5 separate regions of the Homo sapiens genome follow, and all the other regions are linked to region 1. Evidence: promoter capture Hi-C in 16 types of primary human blood cells and fetal thymus (Javierre and others, 2016). All regions are on one chromosome and are shown on one strand. Each heading gives the region's core, a stretch centred on a gene start or on the middle of the fragment in contact. The rest is flanking DNA. Distances are from core to core; before and after follow the strand shown. Region 1 holds the start of METTL13 (methyltransferase 13, eEF1A N-terminus and K55). Region 2 holds the start of COP1 (COP1 E3 ubiquitin ligase). Region 3 overlaps DCAF6 (DDB1 and CUL4 associated factor 6). Region 4 overlaps SFT2D2 (SFT2 domain containing 2). Region 5 overlaps CACYBP (calcyclin binding protein).

What was found. Contacts are between HindIII fragments. The CHiCAGO score rates a contact against its expected background, and 5 or more counts as called.
Region 2: a contact is called between the fragment with the promoter of COP1 here and the fragment with the promoter of METTL13 in region 1, in 7 of 17 cell types (naive B cells, non-activated CD4 T cells, total CD4 T cells and 4 more). The highest score is 13.2, in naive B cells.
Region 3: a contact is called between a fragment that was not itself captured here and the fragment with the promoter of METTL13 in region 1, in 1 of 17 cell types (monocytes). The highest score is 5.6, in monocytes.
Region 4: a fragment that was not itself captured here is called in contact with the fragment with the promoter of METTL13 in region 1 in 1 of 17 cell types (neutrophils); the score reaches 7.4 in neutrophils.
Region 5: a fragment that was not itself captured here is called in contact with the fragment with the promoter of METTL13 in region 1 in 7 of 17 cell types (naive CD4 T cells, fetal thymus, naive B cells and 4 more); the score reaches 9.9 in naive CD4 T cells.

Annotation. Positions count from the first base shown.
Region 1 is chr1:171,780,323-171,783,066 of GRCh38, reverse strand. It overlaps METTL13 (methyltransferase 13, eEF1A N-terminus and K55), which reads right to left and starts at 1,407. Exons shown (of 8, transcript NM_015935.5): 1 at 947-1,407. The coding sequence starts at 1,099. RefSeq lists enhancers at 1,061-1,594, 1,424-1,718. The HindIII fragment of the contact is 1,150 bases long and covers 1,020-2,169 here.
Region 2 is chr1:176,205,917-176,208,660 of GRCh38, reverse strand. COP1 (COP1 E3 ubiquitin ligase) reads left to right here and starts at 1,375. Exons shown (of 20, transcript NM_022457.7): 1 at 1,375-2,089. The coding sequence starts at 1,683. It overlaps COP1-DT (COP1 divergent transcript), which reads right to left and starts at 996. Exons shown (of 5, transcript NR_185981.1): 1 at 790-996. RefSeq lists an enhancer at 768-837 and silencers at 1,338-1,547, 1,578-1,937. The HindIII fragment of the contact is 7,879 bases long and covers 1-2,517 here.
Region 3 is chr1:167,937,892-167,940,635 of GRCh38, reverse strand. The region is part of intron 1 of DCAF6 (DDB1 and CUL4 associated factor 6); the gene reads right to left. Among named protein-coding and RNA genes, the nearest start is that of MPC2, 2.2 kb to the right of the region's middle. The HindIII fragment of the contact is 1,594 bases long and covers 547-2,140 here.
Region 4 is chr1:168,237,362-168,240,105 of GRCh38, reverse strand. SFT2D2 (SFT2 domain containing 2) reads right to left here. Exons shown (of 8, transcript NM_199344.3): 7 at 946-975. Among named protein-coding and RNA genes, the nearest start is that of SFT2D2, 13 kb to the right of the region's middle. The HindIII fragment of the contact is 2,181 bases long and covers 236-2,416 here.
Region 5 is chr1:175,001,036-175,003,779 of GRCh38, reverse strand. All of the region lies in intron 1 of CACYBP (calcyclin binding protein), which reads right to left. Among named protein-coding and RNA genes, the nearest start is that of CACYBP, 2.5 kb to the right of the region's middle. The HindIII fragment of the contact is 277 bases long and covers 1,266-1,542 here.

The sequences.
Region 1 (2,744 bases), core at 158-2,657:
AAAAAGTGGCTCTCGGGGCCTCAGTTTCCTCATCTGTAAAATGTATGCATGGCCACTCACCTGAATTTATGATGAGAATTCAAAGATTGCACATGCACATACACAGCACCCAACATAAGGCTTGGCACATAAAGCTTCCCCACAAATGTTAAGTTTTCTACCTTCCTCCTTCCCTACCTCCAGTACAATCTCACCTATACCAAACCCATTGTTGTACTTATCACGTTTCACTTCTGGAACATGTGCAGGGTTTACGTCTTAATGCTCTTATAGTTTAAGGACTGAGCAGTGCCTGAAACTTGGGGCGCACTCAACGACTATTTGAAAAACAAATTCATACACAAAGTCACACCTGCTGCAGGTTGCACAGGAATGCACAGTGACAGAAGAACATACTTTCAAGATGGGAAGTCACTCTTCAAGTAGGGTTATTAATCCAAGAATGAGCTGGGGTGGGAGGTCTATTATCTGAAAACCTTTAAAGAAATGTTTTTTTTTTTAGACAGGGTCTCACTCTGTCACCCAGGCTGGAGTGCAGTGGCGTGATCATGGCTCACTGCAGCCTCGACCTCCTGGGCTCAAGCGATCCTCCCGCCTAAGCCTCCCGAGTAGCTGGAAATACAGATGCGCGCCACCACGCCCGGCTAATTTTTTCATTTTTTGTAGAGACGAGGTCTCATGTTCCCCAGGCTGGTCTTTAACTCCAGGGCTCAAGCGATCCTCCCACCTCGGTCTCCCAAAGTGTTCGGATTACAGGTGTGAGCCACTGCGCCCGGCCTGAAAGAATATTCTAGTTTGTCTTTTAGCAGGAACAATGCAGGAAATGCTGAAATATGCGTCCAACTAGGGTCCTCCCGCCTGTCACTGTCCACCAAGTGCAAGATTCCTGTTACCAGTTCCCACCTTCCGGAGCACGTACGAAGGGCTACCAACCCGCGCTCCTCACCTTTTCCCTGGGCTTGATATATTTATGTAGCACCCCGCACAGTTCCAGGTAGGTTCCATACCACTCGAAAGCTTTCTTTCCTCGCTGCTGGAAGAACTTCTCCCAATAGTCAACGGAGCCAAACTCCCTGGAACTTTTAGGTAAGAGGTTCATGTTCCTACTGCCGAAGCTGCGTTTTCAAGACTCCCCTATTCCCTGTGAGATACCATTTGAGGAGCTTGCCCACCACACGCAGGCTCCGGGACACTGCAGTGGGAATTCTTTCCACGGAAAAACAGCCACATTGATTTGTTCCCCCACTCCAAACCCCAGGAATGACCCTTACACGACAAACGCACGCATGGACCACTGAATCTCACACACGCTTGCCCCCTCCTCCGCGCCTGCTGTTCCTTCCCCACGTGAAGAGCCCCTCACACTTTTCCCGAACTAGATTTCCGAGCCCATAACCATATCCGGGTGCGAAGCCTCGTGATTCGTCGGCCGGCCCAGCCCAACTCAGCTAGTCATTGGTCGCTGCTTTGCGTTTCTATCACCTCATTGGCTGCGACGTGCTTGCCTTTCTCCGGAGGCTCCGTCGCAGACACCTAAACGCTTTTTTGACCTGAGGCCGGCCGACCATTCACGGAACGGGGCGGGACCGCGGGCCGGAGTTGTGGCGGAAGAGGCCGGGCCTCTGTGAGAACTAGGTCACGTCCGGGTGAGGAGTGAGCGCGGCTGTGCTGTGGTTGGGCCCTCCCTCCAGGCGGGGCGGAGAGCGCGCTTGCTTCCTGGGCTCGGCCTCCGCTTTGTCTTGGAGCCGGCTTAATCACTGACTCCGATCGTGCGCCGCACAAGGGCGGAGCGCGGCAGGCGGGAGCGTACTGGTAGAGGAGGACGAAAAGAAAAACCTATACAGATAGGAGAGAAGTGAGGCAGGAAATGAGTAAAGCCAGTCCGTCGTAAAAACGCTGCACATTCTAACCTTGTCAGCTTCTGCGCACCAGCACCCCCCGCCTTATTTTGCCACCTCTGCACCAAAATATAGGATTCTGCTATCAAAAGTGTAATAACATGAAAACTCCCTCTTCCTTCTCTCCGCAAAGCACAGCATGCAAAACTAGCCTTTCATTTTGATAATTGGCCTCCTTGTGTTATTCTGACGTTATTTATAACTGCTTATTTTATGTGTTTGATAAACATACTGTACTTTCACATGCTCATGCTAATACCCTGAGGAAGCTTCTGTGAAGGGCACTTTTTTTTCAGACAGGGTCTGTCTCTGTCGCCCAGACTGGAGTGCAGTGGTGCAGTCATGGCTCACTGCAGTCTCCACTTTCCAGGGGTCAGGGGATCCTCCCACCTCAGCCTCCCAAGTAGCACGCCACTACCGCTGGCTAATTTTTTTTTTTTTTTTGTAGAAATGGGGTTTCGCCATGTTGTCCGGGCTGTTCTCAAACTCCTGAGCTCAAATGATCATCTCGCCTCACCCTACCAAAGTGCTGGGATGACTGGTGTGAGCCACTATGCTGGCAGGCACTATTTGAAAATGACCAAATATGTGTATCACTGGGCCTTTCATACCATGATAAATTGCAGGAGGAATATACTGATTGCGGAGAGCAGATAGGCTTGGAATTGAGCATGTGTGCTGTGGGCTGTTACATACTACACTACCACAGGTAGATAGCCAGGTAGACTGTTAATAGTTAAGTAGGTTAGATTGGACTTAAACATTGGTTTAAAAAAGTGATTCTCAAACTGGCATGCGTCAGAATCACCTGGAGGACTTGTTAAAACACAGAATTCCCCAGTCCAA
Region 2 (2,744 bases), core at 126-2,625, 4.4 Mb before region 1:
CTCATTTTTTTTTAAATTTTAAAAACCTTTGCCTTCCTTTACCTCCTTGAATACGCACGTAGTTTACTAAGTCATGAGTATTTTCACACTTTATTCCCAAATAAATATATAAGAATCATAGAATGATAGAATTGAAAAGGATAAAATCACACAGTTGTTTCTAACTCCCACCCCTTAGAATGCGGCAAATGAAAAAAATTTTTTTTTTTGAGACAGGGTCTCTGTCTCACAGGCTGGAGTGTAGGGATCTCCGCTCCCTACAGCCTCAACCTCCCCAGCTCAAGCAATCCTCCCATGTCAGCCTCCCGAGTAGCTGGGACTACAGGCCTGCTGCCACCATGCCCAGCTAATTTTTTGTACTTTTTGTAGAGACGGGGTTTCGCTATCTTGCCCAGGCTGGTCTCTAACCTCAGGTTCAGCCTGATCCTCACCTCCAGGCTCAGGTGATCCGACCCCCTAGGCCTCCCAAGGTGCTGCGATGACAGGCATGAGCCACCGCGCCCGCCTATAATCAATTTTCAATATTCTAAAAAAGCCTACCAGAAATTGTATATTTTCTGGTGGTATTAAATGCTAGGTTTCCTTGTTTTGTGCTAGAATTATATCAGATCCACAATAAACCTAGGTTCCGACTGAGCTGGGTCTGATTGAGCAAAATCTGTTTTCCCATTATTGTTATGTTCAATTTGGCAAACAGCTTTTCAAAATATAGGAGTGAAGTCGTGGTCGAACTAATAAAATTGGTAACACTTGCTACAATGTTTGCAATTCGCAGAAAACTTCACTGACTTCATCTTAACTTATTCCTCACAAAGCTGTGGAATCACCATCAGTAGAGCAGGAGTCGTTGGCTCAATGCAGTGCTGTCTGCAACCGCTCGGAGCTTCTAGGTTCTTTCCGTGGGTCTCCAGCTTATGAGCACCTACATTCCGCGATTCGGAAGCACCTGCCTACCCCTCAGAAGAGAGAGACAGCTCCTTCTTCCCGTTCCGGAATGTGGTGCGTTCGCACGCATGCGTGACACGGCTACTCCGCGCTTGCGCCGATATTCTCCGCTTGGGGCGGATACCCTGGGTGACCCGTGAGCGTCCGCGCCCGGCGCGCGCCTGCGCAGTCGCTTTTCGAGAGTTTCCGCCCGCTACGTTCCCGTCTTTCAAACCACCCCACCACCTATACCATTCATTCCAGTCTCCTCAATTCTTTCACTGTATTAAGACGGCCTGCCCTCTGGCACGTTTTCTGGAACGAAAGCGGCTTGGGACAGACAGACTCCCTTCGCCAGGGAGCCCCGACCCCGAGGGCGCGCCCTGAGCGTCTGAGCGCAGCCCCGCTGCGTCCCCAGTTGTATCCCCCGCCACGCCCGCCTCTTCCGCCGCTCGCGCGCGCGCGCACGGCCGGCCACGGCGCGCCGGGGTTGGCTGCTACAGGGACCGCGGTGGCGGCGGCGGCCTCGACAGCGGTAGTGCCTTCTACTCCGCTTTTTTAGTTTCCTCCGCCCCCTCCCGTGGGACGCTGTTGTGTGGCTGCCTTAAAAAAAAACGCAACTTTATTGTTCCTCAGCCCCACCTCCGGCTCGGCGGGCGTCCTCAGGATGCACTGAGGCTGAGGGGAGGGGAGGCGGCGGAGGGTCGAGGTCGCGGTCCCTCTCCTCCGAGCGCCCGGCTGGAGGGGAGGGAGTCACGATGTCTGGTAGCCGCCAGGCCGGGTCGGGCTCCGCTGGGACAAGCCCCGGGTCCTCGGCGGCCTCCTCGGTGACTTCCGCCTCCTCGTCTTTATCCTCTTCCCCGTCGCCGCCTTCCGTGGCGGTTTCGGCGGCAGCGCTGGTGTCCGGCGGGGTGGCCCAGGCCGCCGGCTCGGGCGGCCTCGGGGGCCCGGTGCGGCCTGTGTTGGTGGCGCCCGCCGTATCGGGTAGCGGCGGCGGGGCGGTGTCCACGGGCCTGTCCCGGCACAGCTGCGCGGCCAGGCCCAGCGCCGGCGTAGGAGGCAGCAGCTCCAGCCTAGGCAGCGGCAGCAGGAAGCGACCTCTCCTCGCCCCCCTCTGCAACGGGCTCATCAACTCCTACGAGGACAAAAGCAACGACTTCGTATGGTGGGTTTGAAGAGCACTCCCTCCTTGTCCCTAAATTATGAGTTTCTGCCGCTTAGGCTTGGGGGCGGGGGGTCTGGTGTGGGGGTGGCTTGTTGGAGAGCTTGGGATACTGGTGCTGTGGTGGTGTCTGCAGAGGGAATCGAGCGTTTGCAGGCATTCGAGCTCCTGGTTGGTGGGGTGAAGGAATGTTGGAGTAGCGAGGCAGGGTGGGGATAATAAAGAGGTAGGTAAGTGTTGCTGAGGAGGAAGTGAAGGGAGTTTAACGAATGACGAGGGAAGAGGTGGAAGGTCAAATAAATGGTTTTGGATAACAAAGTTGGCAGAGAGGTTGAGTCTTAAAATTTTTGCCTCTCTGATGAATTGAACACTCAGTCAATCAGGAGTCCTTGTTGAGATGAATGAAATTTGCAAATGGAGAGGACTAAGCTTCCTCGGATGCAGAGGGGTGGAGTTGGTCAAAATTTATTTGAAGTATGGTAGATGATGCTGTAAACATAAGCATGGATGTCTTATAAAGACATGCTTTTTATAATAATGTAAGTACCTATCGTATGTATGTGTAAATATCTTCTTCCATTTCAAAGGATGGGCCACTTAGGAATCGGCTGTTGAGACGACTGTAGTCAAAGTCTGTTAACAGATTTTTCACTTCTCC
Region 3 (2,744 bases), core at 94-2,593, 3.8 Mb after region 1:
ATAAATCACTGATTTCCAAAAGCACTACTCTACACCTAGTATACAGTAATTTGAGAAACTATTACATTTAAACATTTAAACCTACAGGTATCTCTGACTTTGATAATTATTCTTTAAAAAAAAAAAAAATTCCAGGAGGCTGAGGTGGGAGGATGGCCTTGAGCCCAGGACGTGGAGGCTGCAGTGAGCCATGAGGGTGCCACTGCACACCAGCCTGGGAGACAGAGCAAAACCCTGCCTCACCCTGCCCCCCGCCTCCCACCAAAAAAAAGAATCCTACATTGAAATTTAGATAGGGCTCACAAAGATTAAAATCCCTGGCCTATCCTCTAAATCCATGCTAGTCTAAAACAACACTCTGTTGGCCCAGGTGAATCTTGTGGATTTGGGAGCTCTAAGTAAACATATCTTTTAATCATAAATAACATCTGGGAAATTATTCATCTTCATTCCCACAACATAATAGGAAGTTTTCTGAAGTATAATTTTCTTTGATGGGAAGAAAGGAGATAATTAATCAGTTTAAGTAAAATCAATTACAAAGCTTGAATATTAACATTGAAAGGGCACATGCTATGGTGAAATAACTGGAAATGTAAAGGCTACAAGAAAAATTTATCTATTTGTTCTATCCCAATTTTACTATTTAGCAGTAATTCACTGCTAAAAAATCTGTAGAAATACAAATAATGAAAATGTATCAGAAAAATACTTAAATCTACAACCCTGTAGATAGACAATCGTAATGTTTAAATATTGAAGTCTTTTAAAAAAGGAATCTATTTCCTTAGGAAAATCCTAACTTGGAATTTGACTTTTAAAAGGAAGGCTTTATAAGTGTACCATACTTTATTTATTTATTTATTTATTTATGACGCAGAGTTTCCCTCTGTCGCCCAGGCTGGAGTGCAGTGGCACAATCTTGGCTCACTGCAACCTCCACTTCCCAAGTTCAAGCTATTCTCCTGCCTCAGCCTCCCAAGGAGCTGAGACTACAGGCGTACGCCACCACTCCCGGCTAATTTTTGTATTTTTAGTAAAGACCAGGGTTTCACCATGTTGGCCAGGCCGGTCTCAAACTCCTGACCTCAAGTGATCACCCACCTTGGCCTCCCAAAGTGCTGGGATTCCAGGCGTAAGCCACCGCGCCCGGCCAAGAGTACTGTACTTTAAAAAGTCATTTTATCTAATAATAAAAATAAAATTAATAATAATGATAAAGTCATTTTATCGCCACACACAAAAAAAGATGGTAATTATGTGACATGATGGATATGTTAATTAACTTGATTGTATATGAAGTTATCAAGTCCTACACCTTAAATATAACAATTTTTAATTGTCAATTATACCCCAATAAAACTGGGAGGGAAAGTCATTTTTTAAAAAAAACCATCACTAATTCAAACATTACCAATGTGGATTTTGCTGCTTCCTGAATGCAAAGCCAGGATTAGCACTGTAGTATAGAAGAGCTGAATAACAGTGTAAAGGTCTACTAAGGGTAAAGGCCAATAAATTAGTTCTTTGCAAACATTTTCAAGTTTCGATACTTTCAAAAAGTATTTTCAAGTACTTAGAAAACCACTTTTAAAGGAAGTCATTCCAAAAATGTCCTATTTTAAGAGTATATATTATCATATCTAAAATATTATTTAAGATAAAGAACTCCCTGTATGTATACATACACATTTGAAAAACTGTAATTCAGGCTTTCTAATATAGTCAGTGAACCCTTCAATTCCCCTAGACCCAATACACAAATTCCATTTCCATTAGGGAGTTGGAGTAGGAGGGGGAAAAGCAGGTATATGGTTTTGTTATATTTTAATTAACTCGTTTGTAGATATAGCTGAAGTAACTGAACCAAAAGAAAACACTAAAATATAGAACTATATACAAGTACTTAAACTGTCCAACTGAGATAAAGGACCAAATTATAAATGTATCCATGCAAAACAATGTTAACGTTTGTTTTATTAAGCTAAAATTAAGTTCTTTCTCCGCAAATAAATTCTAAAAGAAATACTGCACACTTTTTTTGGTAAATAGTTTTAAAAACCAGACTCCAGCTATGTTCAATTTTAAAATGATTAATCACCACTCTAGGTACTTATCCTACAACAAATGCACAGAAGCTTGTAGAATGATGTTCATTAAAATGCTGTAAGGGCGAACGTCTACTTAAAGAAGAAAGGTTGAGTACCCTATGGTACTTCATAATGTTACCTACTATGTAATAATTTAAAAGACAGAATCAATCTATTTTTACTGCCATGGAAAGATCTCCAAAATGTGGAGAAGTGAAAACAATGTTTACAATATGACACCATGCACTCAGGTGTCTCTCTCATACACACACAAACACACACACACCCCAGCATTTGTACATGTACATATGTACTTGTAAGAATGCAAACAAAAAGGTCTGGAAGAATATTCAGAAAACAGAAAATATTATTTCTAAGGGTGGCGGAGTGAAATTGAATGGGAGGGATCAAAGGGATTTTTGCTTCATTTTTATTGAGTTTTTATAAACAAAATGTATTCGTATTTTACTTGAGACACTAAAAAGAATTAAAAAATTGCATGCTAACTTTTCTTAAATAATTTACAAACCAGAACTGTTGGTTGTAATGAGATTTCATTTTCTTCTCTTTACTTGAAATCAAAAACAAATGAGAGCAACAAACACTTTTTAACTAGCAAGTGGCAAAACTGGAAAGAAAAAAATTTTATGATGT
Region 4 (2,744 bases), core at 77-2,576, 3.5 Mb after region 1:
CCTCCTGGGTTCACGCCATTCTCCTGCCTCAGCCTCCCAAGTAGCTTCGACTACAGGCGCCTGCCACCACGCCCAGCTAATATTTTGTATTTTCAGTAGAGACGGGGTTTCACTGTGTTAGCCAGGATGGTCTCGATCTCCTGACAGCAGGATCCACCCGCCTCGGCCTCCCAAAGTGCTGGGATTACAGGCGTGAGCCACTGCACCTGGCCCAGTACAGTTTTTTTAAAAAGCTTGTTTTTAATTAACAGGTAATGATAAAAAAAAAAAAAAAAGAACAGAAGTTAAATAGTTGCATTAGAACAAAGTCAGAGGCAAAGATCATGCGGCTAATTTTGAGAGGTCCGTCACTGAAAGTGCTTAAAGAGGTATGGAGTATTAGAATTTCAGAGCTAAAAGAGGCCTCTGGAGATGATCTAGACCAACTCAGTCTACTTATCGATGCTTTGAGGCCAGAGGGGTCAAGAGAGCTGCTCGAGGTCACACTGCTAATTAGGAAGCCCTGGTACTGCTTACTCTCCCTTTATAAACTCTTGTGAAACCTTCCCAGCAGTGGGATACTGCAAGAAGCACGAATTGAGATCCCTCCATATCTTACTCAGTGATATGAAATGACATTCACCTTTATAAAAAAAAAAAAAAAAAAAACCCTACTCAAAGCTACGGGTTAAAAGAGTAATAATGTGCATATATGCACCATATATAAGAGTAGAATGTTCACAGCATTGGAAATCAGTGTACCTGGGTAAATATCCATCATTAGTTGTATAATTAGAGTGGGTGGTGGGGTGACCTTTAACTTACTTATCTATAAATGAGATGTATAGTATTTGTCTACTTGACTCAAAAGACTTCAGTAAAGATAAATAAAATAGGCTATACTCTCTGAAAGCAGACTCTGAATTAAAATGACAGAAATCATTATTTCCAAATACACAGTCTTACCTTGCAAATGGTATGAAGGAAAGGCTGTACCTATAATGAAAAACAAAACAAAGGGTCAAATGAGATGAAGGGAGTAGCAGATTATCCAGCAGAATGGGCTTCTGAGCTGTAAGAATACCTGCAGTGATCTATCCAGACCCTCTCCCATACTCAGCCTGGGGGATGAGCATGTGCACACAAAGGCCCACGCATGTGCATGCACGTGTACCCAAACACACACACTATGGCCATGTACAGATAGGCAGCCACAGAAGAAGGGCAAAAGGTTCATGTGGAGATAACCCGTATGACCTCGGCCTCAATGCAGTACTGCTATAACCTTGAACTAGCAACAATCACCTTAAACAGTCAGATTTCAAATACCCAGATGGCACAGAAACTCTATTCTGAAAAAATATCAAATAAAACCCAGAACAGTTGAACCGCACCCCCCTCCTTTATTTATTTATTTATTTTTTTTTTTGAGACAGGGTCGTGCTCGTCACCTAGGCTGCTGGAATATAGTGGCTCAATCATAGCTCACTGCAGCCTTGAATTTCTAGGCTCAAGTCTAGGAAGCTCAAGCAATCCCCCTGCCTCAGCCTCCAGAATTGCTGGGACTACAAGTATGTGCCACCATGCCCGGCTAATTTTTTAATGTTTTTTTTTGTTTGTTTGTTTGTTTTTTTGCAGAGACCCGGTCTTGCTACACTGTCCAGGCTAGTCTCAAACTCCTGGCTTCAAGCAATCCTCCCACCTCAGCCTCCCAAAGTCTTGGCATTACAGTGTGAGCCACCCATACCTGGCACAGTTGAACTCCTAACATTTTATAAATTCTAAACAGAATTTAACTTCTACCTAATTGGGATAAATTTTCTGCTCTGCTCCTATTAATTTTAAAAGAAGAGAAAAGAGAATAAAAAAGAAGAAGAAAAAAATGCTACCAACTACTCTATGAGTGAAAATGTAGTACGTCCAAAGGTATCTTGGTAAATTCCAGTTAGCTCAGCCCTGTCACTTAGAAGGAAACCATATACAAGGAACAGGCTCCATAATGCTAAAGAACCAGGCACTGTGTGTCAGGCAGACTGTAAGTTAGCCCTTAGAAAAGCAAACACAGTCAGAACACATGAGTGTTGAAGGGAATATCACCATTCAGCTGGACCCATATGAATGCTGAACCTCTGAAACTGGATTCAAAATCAGTCTATAAGCAAAGCAAGGTGTGTGTATATAGGTACCAATTTCTGCCCTGGAAGAAAAATCAAAATATAAACAGTCTACCACTCAAATGTGCATGTCATTTAAAAAAAAAAAAAACATACACACACACACACACATAAACACAAACACCAGCATCCTTCTCCATATCTTATACTTAACATGTACAGAAGCTCAATTACTTGTCAACACAGTAAATTCCAAAAGGCAATTTGTAACTATATTTATTCAAAAGTCCAAAATTGCTAAAGGGAGGGATGGGAGTTAAGCTTACAGTCTCAAGATTCATTTCTACCAAATAGGAGTTAACCAATTCTTCAGAACTTTAAAATGTCCACAATCCTCCTTTCTTTACACTGTAGCAAACATTTTTTTCAAAAATAGGTGAGTCACATCTATACTGAAACTGTTCTGGCAGATACCATCCCTTGATAAACTTTGAAAGAACTACAGAAATGTCTTGGAACCTACAGATTCCAACTATGCCACCACCCCTCTCACTCTGAGGTCGTATAGGCTTGAAAGGACCATGAACCTACAGCCCCACTCATGGTTTCCCAAAATGTCTCCAGCGGCCCTTTTACTATACTTGGCTCTGG
Region 5 (2,744 bases), core at 155-2,654, 3.2 Mb before region 1:
AGTTTTTTTTCCCCCAATTACCCTCTGACATACTGCAAATACACAAGATCTTTCCAAACAGCTGTTTCACTTTTCTTACAATAACTTTACACTCTGGCTTGACACTACCAACTTGACCAAAAAAATCTTGTGTCACAGCTTGATATCAAAAGCTCAATTTAAAAAAGTCTTTTAGTGCTTTATAACTCAGAATATCAGACGCACAACAGAGTTTGAAAGCCTGTTTCTTAATAGTCTTATAAAATGCAATAACAGAACTAATTCTTTTCTTTTACTACAAGTCTTTTGTTATCTCATTTAACTCAGATGCCCTAGTTTTGCCTATCTATAACAGATGACATGGTATAAAAAGTTCAACTCTGGCCAGGTGCAGTGGCTCACACCTGTAATCCCAGTACTTTGGGAGGCCAAAGCGGGTGGATCACTTGAGGTTAGGGGTTCGAGACCAACATGACCAACACGGCGAAAGCCCGTCTCTACTTAAAATTCAAAAATTTGCCGGGTGTGGTGGCACGTGCCTGTAATCCCAGCTACTCGGGAAGCTGAGGCAGAAGAATCGCTTGAACCCGGGAGGCAAAGGTTGCAGTGACCCGAGATCGCGCCATTGCACTCCAGCCCGGGCAACAAGAGCAAAACTCGGTCTCCCAAAAAAAAAAAAAAATCAACTCTGCCCAACCCTCTTGTCCACACTCTCGACCCTTCCAAGAACAGCTCATATTACTATGACAAAAAATCTTGCAAACTCATCTTTTGAGCATAGAACCAAAATGTTTCAGTTCAAAGTAATATTTTTATTGTAATGGTTTCAAAAAAACGCTGATTCTACAACTCCTAATTCATAATAAAAATATTGAAATGTAAAATGAAATATATTAAGTCTAAGCAAGAGGTTTTGCTTTTTGACTGAAATAGGAATACTTTATCTAGCAGAATGAGAAAGGTACTTCGAATTAGGCAAGGGATTCCCCCAATGGCTGAATTCCCAAGCCCTCTTTATTGCCAGTTTTGACTCTAAAGTACTCTTTTTATTATGAAGTATCCACTGAAAAAACTTAAAACTGAGACAGTTCCTCAGTTCTGTTATTGGCAGACTTGAAACCAACAAAGGTGATTCCTTTGATGCTTTTTCTGCACAAATACTTTAAGATGTCCTAGTTTCCTATCTAATTTATCATGTAATTTTCCTTGCCTTCTTGGCATGTGTTTGTTTTACGTATATAAAAATTTTATTTCTCTTTTATCCCTACCCATAAGGCATTCAAGCTTTATCTTCCTATTTCCTAATTTTTCACTAGGAGGCATTAACACCAATGTGCCTCAAAAATGGGCAAAGGAATTCAACACACATTTCTCCAAAGACACAGAAATGGACACCAAGAACATTAAAGATGCTCAACATCTTCATCATTGGGTAAACGCATATCAAATTCCCAAGATGCCACTTCACACCCAGTAGGATGGTATCATAAACCGAAAAAGAAAAATAAAACACCCCAGAAAATAACAAATGTTGATAATGATGTGGAGAAACTTTCAGAAGCTTCAAACATTTCTTACAGGAATATGATGCAACCACTCTGGAAACAGTCTAACAGTTTCTCAGAAAGTTACCATATGAACCAGTAATTCCACTCCTAGGTATATACCCCAGAGAACTGAAAACACATCCACACAAAAAACTTGGATACAGTACTCGCAGCAGCATTATTTATGCTAGTCACGAAGTGGAAATAAGGCCAGGCGCCATGGCTCACACCTGTAATCCCAGCACTTTCAGAGGCCGAGGCGGGCGGGCGGATCACTTGAGATCAGGAGTTCGAGACCAGCCTGGCCAACGTGGTGAAACCCCGTCGCTACTAAAAATACAAAAATTAGCCGGGCATGGTGGCGCGCGCCTGTAATCCCAGCTTCTCAGGAGGCTAAGGCAGGAGAATCCTTTGAACCCGGGAGACGGAGATTGCAGTGAGCCGAGATTGCGCCATTGCACTCCAGCCTGGGCGACAGAGCGAGACTCCGTCTCAAACAAAGAAGTGGAAATAAATGTCCATAAACGGATGAAAGGATAAACACAATGTGCCACATGCATATAATAGAATATTATTTAGCCATAAAGAGCATGTGTACTGATACACGCTACACCATGGATGAACTTGAAAATGTTAGTGCTAAGTTGAAGGAGCCAAAAAACAAAAGGCCACATACAGCGTGACTCCATTTATATGAAATGCCTACAATAGGCAAATTCACAGAAAGTACAAGATGAGTAGTTGTCAGGGGCTGAGGGAGGAATGGGAAGCAATTGTTTAAAACACACTACATGGTTTCTTTCTGGAGTGATGAAAATGTCCTGAAACTAGACAGTGGTGATGGCTGCACTACACTGTGAATATATTTAAACAAAAAACAAATACCTGAATTGTACACTTTAAAATGGTTAAAAACTTGAATTTTATCTCAAACAAAACAAAAATCAAGTGCCCTCAAATGTATATTTCTAAGTGCCTAAACTGAGAACGATCTCTACTTTCAAGAGGACTAACACTGAGCTATCCACCTGCAAGACTGTGAAGTTATCTCCTAGGGGCACATAGTACCCAAGACCTACCTTAAAAGACTTGTCACAAGATACCCAGATTAATACTGGAACACACAAACCTCATAGTTTTTCTTCATTTAAAGAAAAGATTTTGAGTTTAAAAAACAAAAACAAAACAAAACAAAAGCTTGGGACTCCCCAGTACTTG